2 separate regions of the Homo sapiens genome follow, and region 2 is linked to region 1. The links are contacts of gene promoters, found by promoter capture Hi-C in blood cells and fetal thymus (Javierre and others, 2016). All regions are on one chromosome and are shown on one strand. Each heading gives the region's core, a stretch centred on a gene start or on the middle of the fragment in contact. The rest is flanking DNA. Distances are from core to core; before and after follow the strand shown. Region 1 holds the start of TGM6 (transglutaminase 6). Region 2 has its middle 19 kb from the start of LINC03086.

Region 1 (4,519 bases), core at 1,996-4,495:
GAGCTCTACGAACAGGGATTTTTTTTTTTTTTTTTTTTTGAGACGGAGTCTCACTCTGTCGCCCAGGCTGGAGTGCAGTGGCACAATTTCTGCTCACTGCAAGCTCCGCCTCCCGGGTTCATGCCATTCTCCTGCCTCAGGCTCCCGAGAAGCTGGGACTACAGGTGTCCACCACCATGCCCGGCTAATTTTCTGTATTTTTAGTAGAGATGGGGTTTCACCGTGTTAGCCAGGATGGTCTCGATCTCCTGACCTCATGATCCGCTCACCTTGGCCTCGCAAAGTGCTATGATGACAGGAGTGAGCCACCGCGCCCGGCCTACAAACAGGGATTTTTACATCATCACTCCTTTCCCACATCTCCCCCATCACTTTGGTCCTCCCCTCCCCAATTCCTACATGCACGGGGTTTCTTGTTATTCTCCCCTCTTTGCTTCTCGCTTAAGCGACTGTATGGCCCCAACAGCTTCAGAGTGTTTTTCAGCTCAACCTGTTCAATCCATCCCATCACTATGGAGAAACTGAGGTTCAGAGAGGAGAAGGGACTTTTCTGAGTGTCAGCATGTCATTTTCCCTGCTCAAGCACCATGGAATCTACAGCCATCTTGTTGGCATTGAAGGTCCTTGACAGTCAGGCCCTGCCCATCACTTCTGGCCCTCTGACCTCCTCCCCAACTAATTTGCTCACCAGCTGGCCCCAGAGCTCCACCTAAGAAAGGGAAGGGTCCATGTGCAGAACATTGCCTCCTGCCGACTTAGCTCTCCACCCATCCCCACCCCCAAGCCTAGCTCATCCATCTTCCTCCTCCTGCCCTTGGGTGATACCAGAGAGCTGAATGATACAATCCTCCCCAATTCTTTGTCTCAGGCCAGTGGGCTTGAGCCCTGGAAACTCTGTTGAAGCCAGTGGCATCTTCCAGACTCTGGACTAAGCATAATTGGTTTTTAATGGGCCCCATTATAATCCTATGCTTAGTACGCATCATGAGCACCTGAACTCCATGACTAAATGATTTATCGAGAGTTGCCTGGGGCCTTTCTGGGGCCACTGCCCCATCTCTCTTTCCTTCCTGGTCTTGTTGGAAGCTGCTGGCCTCTCTTTCACCAGGAGGCAGTGACTCATCAACTCCAACCCAATGTCCCAGCCAGAGCCAGCCTCACATACAGTATTCCACTCAATTCTTGGAATCTCTGAGCTGAAAGATGATTGTAATTTAATCATGGCAAAAGGGTCTCACCTCCTTTGCCAACACTGATCAACTGGTACTTAAAGAGCTGGGTTGAGCATTCTGGGGCCACATCCAGGCTCCAGAGGGAAGAGCTCTGGGGTCAACTAGGGATGTCCACCATGGATGGAGTGAGGGAGGGGGGATAGAAGGAGCTCCAGGAAGATGAATACACTTTCCATCTAGGATCTGATGTCTCAGTCATTCAGGCACAGAGTGTGTGGTAGGCAGGACCTACTGCTCTGAGGAACAGATCCTCCCAAGAAGCCAAGAGGACCCAGAAGACCCAGGAATTGAATCCAATCCAACACATAGTCCATTTACATAGGCATGACAACTCCAATGCTGACATTTCACAGACGGAGAAACAGAGCTTCAGAGAGAGGAACCCAGCAAGTTAGTTACAGACCTGACAATGGGCATCATCATCAACTTTTTTCCTTCCTCAGAAACTAACCTTCGCACTGTCAAGTTTAAGTCTGATAGGTTATCAAAGGCCCAGGGAAGAGGGATCATCTAGGTGAACTTTGAGAAGCAGATCTTGGAGGAACAAAGGCAATCCCCTCTGCACCAGGGCCATCAGGGAGGCAACCCCAGCTCTGGAAACAGGCAGTCTGGGCTGTGAGCTGGTGTTGGCAAGGCCTGGTCTTCAGAACAGACCTATCCTAGGAGCCTGAAGGGCCCAACACGTCCAGCAATGCTGTTAACTGCCAGGAGGAAATATGAAGAGGAAGCTAGACTATGATGAGGAAATTCAAATATCTGCCTTTGAAAGTTAAAAAAATATTTGATTCATAAAACTGTCACATAATGCTGAACAATTAAAACTGGCAGACACAGACTCAGAAACACCCCTTGAATACCTGTGAGTGTAGGACCCCTGGTTCTGCTGACTTGCTCATTACCGGGCCCCAGCATCTAAGACAAGTTCTTGCAGAGGGAGTTTGCTGCTCACTATATTGAGGTCGTGGGGGACACATTATCTTACTTTCTTTTTTTTTTGAGACAGGGTCTCACTCTGTTGCCCAGCCTGCAGTGCAGTGGCACCATCTTGGCTCACTGTAGCCTCTACCTCCTAAGCTCAAGCGATCCTCTCACCTCAGCCTCCCAAGTAGCTGGGACTTTGGGTGTTCCCCACCATGCCTAGCTAATTGTTGTATTTTTTTGTAGAGACGGGGTTTTGCCACATTGCCCAGGCTGGTCTCAAACTCCTGAGCTCAAGAATTCCACCCCCTTCAGCCTCCCAAAATGCTGGGATTAGAGGCGTGAGCCACTGTGCCCGACCCACATTTTCTGAGTCTACTGTTTACAAGTCCCCACTTGAGATGTGTGGTGGGAGAACAGCACACGTGGTCTCACCAACTCCTCACAGCAAGGCTGTGAGATAATTTGCATTATAATCCCCATTACACAGATCAGAAAACAGAGGTACCAAGGGCAAATTTTCTTGCTCAAGGTCATATAGCTGTTTTCACTTGAGCCAGAGCTGCTCTTGCCCTCAAGTGCTTGGGGTGGGAATCAGGCGAGGATGCAGCCGGTGGGGGCCTCTCACTCCTTCCCACGCAGGCCACAATTCCCAACTATGCCCAGAAACGTCTCTGGATCCATGGAATGTGCATGGGGTGCAAGGAGATTTTCTTTTTTCTGCCCCTGCCTTCCTGTGCCTGCCTCCTTCAGTCCTCCGAGGCACAGGGGTGAGACCTGGCCCCAGCCCAGGAGACAGCGCCTGAGCCAGCCTGGGCCATGGCCTTGCTGGGTGGCTTAAAGCTGGCTTTTTCATCCTGGGCCTCATGAATCCACACGAAGAGTTCATGTGTTCATGGTGGACTATCCAGCTGTAAAATCCTAACAATCGATGATCAAACGTCATCCCACAGACCCGTGTTTCTTGAAGCCCCCCTCATGAGCCCTGGTGTCCCAAGGCCCCAGGCTCTGCCCACTTACCTGCCATGTGAAGGCCAGCTGGACTCCTCTGTTCCTCCACACAGCAGTGTGTGCACCGTCAGGACAGTGTGGCGCGTCACAGCAGCCAGCCAGACCAATTTTAACAAGGAAAACCTTGGGACACTCCTAGGCAGGAAAGTCAGAATTCAAAAGAGGAGGCGTGGCCCTCCACCCTAGCAGCGACACCCACGAGACACAAAATCATCCTGTAATTGCACCTAGAGGGGTTCACTGTGGGAGTGGCTCCTGCCAAGAGACCTTGGAAACACGGAGTTGCGAATGGGACTGTGGAGAAACTGAGGCTCAGAAAGGTCACAAGCCTGGCAAGAAAAAGAACGGGGAAAGAGAGAAGACTGAGGGAACTCGGATTTATGGTTGGCCATTCTTAGCCCTCACAACAACCCTCAAATGAGAAAAAACAGGCTCAGCGCCAGGACCCCGAAGTACATGGTTGCACGCTGCAGTGCCGGGTCAGTCTGTGGCTCCCTCTCCCCTCCTGGGTGAGAGCAGAAGACTCCTGGGCCCACAGCTCCACTCTGTTCTGCAGGCATCTAAAGAGGCAGAGGTCCATGATCCTCCTTCAGGGCCACTAGACTTCCTTGGTGGACACTAGACTCTTGAGAGGAGGTAGATAAGAAAAAGGGGAGAGCTGGTTCTGACTCAGAAGCTAGGCCCATCTGCCCTGACTTTGTGAGTGGCCTCCAGCCAGGAGCTTAGAGGCCTGGTGGCCATGGGTGTCCCGTGACCTTGGACAAGACCTCTCCCCTCCTGGAACCCTGGTGTTTCTACCTACAAACTAAAGGGATTGGACTCAATTATTCTTCAGGGCCATTCCAGCTCAAAGTCTAAGATTCTGGGCTTGAAGGTGCTGGAATTCAAGGCATCTGAGGTCTTTTGTTAATGAAATAGAGGGGATTTTATTTTCATGGAAGCCGGTGGGGTAGGTTTCTTTTTGCCGGAGAAATGCTTTGATGGATGACTTGGGGCTATCGAAGGCTGGATGTGGCCTGGGCCAGTGAGGAAGGGGAAGTGGGAGGGGGTAGAATCGAGGGAAAGAGACAAGGAAGGGTAAGGAGACAACCGTGTGCTGAGCACAGTAGGATGAGGCCGCTCCCTGGGATCACCCCAACATTCAGGAAACTGCATAAAAACCCCAAAGTGTTTGATGTGGTTGGATTTCTTACAGAAAGTGGCAAAGAGGCTGAGTTCTGCTTCCTGGTTTCACGCAGATCAAGCGTCTTTAATGAGCTGTCTGCAGACCCACATAGCCTTATAATTACTGACATCTGGCAGCAGCCCAGGGCAGCTCCTTCCTCAACACCCTGCAGGCTGCTGCCCTGTAGACCCTG
Region 2 (4,522 bases), core at 1,331-3,830, 190 kb after region 1:
GAAGTCAGTAGGCAGGGTTGGCTAATTAAAAGATCTGAGTCCCATCTTTGAAACAATTTCTGGAATAGCCGTCTGAGGAGCTGTGTAGATATTTCCCTGGTGAAAAAAACTGTACCTTGTAAAAATTATTTTTAAAAAGAAGCATTTATAGTCTCTGGAAACTGTCTTAAAGATATATAGCAAATAGAGCAGGCACGGTGGCTCATGCCTGTAATCCCAGCACTGTGGGAGGCCGAGGCAGGCAGATTACGTGAGGTCAAGAGTTTGAGACCAGACTGACCAACATGGTGAAACCCCATCTCTACTAAAAATACAAAAATTAGCTGGGTGTGGTGGCACACACCTGTGTAATCTCAGCTACTTGGGAGGCTGAGGCAGGAGAATCTCTTGAACCTGGGAGGCGGAGGTTGCAGTGAGCCGAGATCATGCCACTGCATTCCAGCCTGGGCGACAGAGTGAGACTCCATCACTCTATCACTCACTCTAGGAAAAAAAAAAAAAGAAGAAGAAGAAAGGCATATAGCAAATAAAGAAACATTTCATGGTAAGAATAGCATGCATCTGGGGTATCTGAGCCATAGCCTGTTCCTTTCCGCTTCCCCCAGCTCAGCACGATGAAGCTCTGCCACAGGTGGGTGCAGACAAGAACATAGGATTTCCTCTTCCCCCAGAGGGCAGGAATATTGCAGGTTACCAGAAACACTTATTCCCCTAGCTCTATGTTGTAGAAGCTAAATTCCAGGCAAGAGCAGCTGAGAGATCTGGAGTTCCTTTCTCTACCCAGTCCCCGCTCACTCACAGGGTAGGAGCTCTACCCGAGACTTGTCAGTCTGAGAATACTGGGACCCTGATTGCCCTCGTTTCATGTTGCTCATAAGGGAGAAGTTCTGCACTGAGAGAGGCAAACTGAGCAGACCAGAGACAACCACCACCACAAGCACACTACTTGTAAAGTCTGGATATTGCTGCAAGAGGAAGAGGCTGCTGTCTTTACCCCTAGCTCTGAAGCAGTGGTGTAGAGATTTTGTCTAGAGGGAGAGAGAGGCCTTCAGAACAGAGAGCTTCAATGTTCTCCCCTAGGGGAACAGGCTTTATTGTGAACAGAGTGTAGAGGGAAGTTCAAATCAAATGATATGAACAAAATATGAATGTGGGGCAAGGAGAGGTAACTGGTGGTAATTAAACAATGGATCTTTTGGTGGTAAGAAATTACGAGGAGACAAGTAGCTTCTTGAAAAAAAGAAGCTAAACCTAAACCATCTAGTAGTTTAACACGAATAATCAGGGAAAGAGACAGTTAAGAAAAGCTCTTTGGGATCAGAACAAGACTCAAAAACTGGCCTTAAAGACTACCCCTGTAAAGGGGCCCAAATATCACAGAATCCTATTGTAGAGCAATTTTTGCCTCACAGCACTGTCAAAAACAATAGAACAATCAACCATCAATTGGTAGAAGCTAATATCTAGGTATGATACCAACAGAGGCAGACAGCATAACAGAGATAAAGGAAAAAGACAGTCAAAGAGAGCCCTGCTAAAACCAGTGGCATCCTAGAGAGGCTGTGCTCATGCCCAAGGCTGAGCTCTTTGAGGAACAACATCAGATGCTGCACCCTGTGAGGGAAATAGACTTTCCTGAAATATAAAAAGAATATTTATTATGGAAGAAAGCTTTATTTCTCTTGTCCTTTCATATTGGGAGAAATATTGAATACATAGAAAGAGTGCTGGATTGCTCTAGCAAAGTTACTAACCAAATAAACAAGCAAACAACAAATCTGTGGGAGCATGGAGAACTGGTATTCAGAGTTGCTACAACATATTATCTAAAATGTCCACTTTTCAAAAAAATTGTTCAGTACCATAGGAAAGGTAAAAAAAAAATTGTGAGACATGCAAAGAATTATATAAATATGTGGAAAAGCAACAAAACACTCTAAAGCAGCACTCAGATTGAAATTTATAGCTGTTAACATGTATATTCAAAAAGAAGAAAAACCTCAAATCAACAGCCCCATGTTCCACTTTAAGAAACAAGAAAAAGAAGAGCAAACTAAAGCTAAATGAAAGAAATAGTAAATATAGAGTAGAAAGAAGTGAAATAGACAGAAAAACAATAGAGAAAAACCCAACAAAACCCAAACTAGTTCTTGGAAAGATGAACAGCATTGATAAACTTTTAGCTAGATTGATCAAAAAACAAAAAAGAGAGAGAAAAACTCACATTACTAAAATGAGGAATCAAAGGGGGGACATTACAAAATCTAAAAAGGAATATTGTTAACAATTATATACCAACAAATTAGGTAAACTAGATGAAACACACAGACTCCTAAAAAGAAACAACCATCAAAACCGTCTCAAGAAAAAATAGAAAATCTGATAGATCTATAACAAGTAAAGATACTGAATCAGAAAACTTATCACAAAGAAAAGTTCTGGCTCAGATGGCTTGGTAAACTCTATCAAATGTTTAAGGAAGAATTAACATCAATCTCTCACAAACTCTTCAAAAAAATATAGAAAGAGAGAACACTTCCCAACTCCTATGAAACCAATATTACCCTGATACTAAAATCAGGCAAAGACATTACAAGAAAGTTACAGATCAATATCTCTCATAAATATAGATGCAATAATCTTCAACAAAATTCCTGTAAATCAAGTCTAGCAACATATAGAAAGTATTATAAACCACAACCAAGTGGGATTTATCCCAGGAATGCAAGGCTGGTTTAACATCCAAAAATCAATTCATGTAATATACAATATTAATAGAACAAAGGAGAAAAACAACATGGTCATTTCAACAGAGGCAGAAAAGCATTTGGGAAAATACAACACTTCTATGATTTTAAAACATCAACAAGCTAGAAACACAAAAGAATTTTCTCAACTTGATAAAGGGCCTCTATCAAAAACCCACATTTACCATCATTCATAATGATGAAAAACTGAATACTTTCCCCTTAAGATCAAGAACAAGAAAAAGATGTCCATTCTCAACACTTCTATTTGCCACTTCTTTTTTTGTTGTTTTTTGTGTTTGTTTTATCCTTAGCAAACTAACGCAGGATATTTGCCACTTCTATTCTGGAGGTTATAACCAGAAAAAACAGGCAAGAAAAATAAATACAGACATTTAACTTGGAGAGGAAGAAGTAAAACTATTTTTACTAAACATGACATAATTTTGTATAGAGAAAACCTTTAAAAATCACTCAAAACTATTATAATAAATGAACAAGTCAGCAACTATGCAGGATACAAGGTAAATATACAAAAATCAATTGTATTTCTATATGCCAGCAACAAACAATCTAAAAATGAAATTTAGAAAACAATTTAAGAGATAAACCTGGAATCCTAAATAAGTGGGAACAACCTGAAAGTCCATCAAGTGATTAATGGATAAATAAAATGTGATATACCCATACAATGGAATCTTATTTAGCAATAAAAAGGAATGAAATACTGATATAAGCTTCAACATGGATGAACTTGAAAATATTATGCTAAGCGAAAGAAGCCAGCAAGAAAAGGCCACATGTCATATGATTCCATTATACAAAATGTTCAAAATAGGCAAATCTATGCAGACAGAAAGCAATTTAATGGCTGCCTAGGGTTGGGGAAGTTGAGAGGAAGTGGCAAGCTACTGTTAATGGTAAATTATTTCCGTAGTGATGAAAATATTCTAAAATTGTCTGGAGTAATGGTCGCACAACTTTGTGAATACACTTAAAACCATCGAAGTAGGTCTATCATATGGTATGTGAATTATATGTCAATAAAGCTGTTCTTTAAAAGTTTCATCTTTGTTGTATTTAGTGTCAGATTGTTTTCATCTAACTTCCTCATAGTCATAAAACTACTGCCATGGCTCCAGGTATCATATCTTCATGAGACAATATCTAGAGTAAAATAAAACAGTGTGTGTTAGGAGATTGCTTTCTCATATTTCTTTTTAAGATTGAAAAAACCTTTCTCAGAAACCTTCAGGCACAATTCCTCTCACAACTCATTGGTAAGAATTGGGCCTTATGTCCAACCTTAATATCAGGAGAATATCACTTCTCTACTCAAAATCCTCAAAGATTTCCCTTCTTACTCAGGGCTAAAGTCCTTATGATGGGCTACAATAGCTTATGTGACTGAAGCATTGCCTCTTACCCCTCAGTACTACTTTGCTACAACCTCTGTAGAATTTATGGGGTCCCTGTTGTGGCAACTCTAAGTACGTTTCAGCATGTCTCAACAGCAGCTTAGCCCTGAATCATGTTTTGGGTACAGCCCAATCTTTCACAAGTCTATCTGTATGCTTTGCTCTGTGACAAGGACACTGTCTTGCCAAGGATGCTGTAAATGTTTTTGAAGTGGGGAAGAGTCTAATTCCAAAATGTTTTAGTATTGTTCACAGAAACAATGAATAAATCATATCCACAACTTGAATTTTTTATGTTTGGTTCAGAAATAATTTGTTCATGTCTAGTATTTTTTTAGTACTTGTAATATTTAAGAT

What was found. Contacts are between HindIII fragments. The CHiCAGO score rates a contact against its expected background, and 5 or more counts as called.
Region 2: a contact is called between a fragment that was not itself captured here and the fragment with the promoter of TGM6 in region 1, in 1 of 17 cell types (M1 macrophages). The highest score is 5.1, in M1 macrophages.

What each region holds. Positions count from the first base shown.
Region 1 is chr20:2,379,627-2,384,145 of GRCh38, reverse strand. It overlaps TGM6 (transglutaminase 6), which reads right to left and starts at 3,245. Exons shown (of 13, transcript NM_198994.3): 1 at 3,171-3,245. The coding sequence starts at 3,177. The HindIII fragment of the contact is 23,923 bases long and covers 1-4,519 here.
Region 2 is chr20:2,185,625-2,190,146 of GRCh38, reverse strand. No RefSeq gene overlaps it. Among named protein-coding and RNA genes, the nearest start is that of LINC03086, 19 kb to the left of the region's middle. The HindIII fragment of the contact is 1,813 bases long and covers 1,674-3,486 here.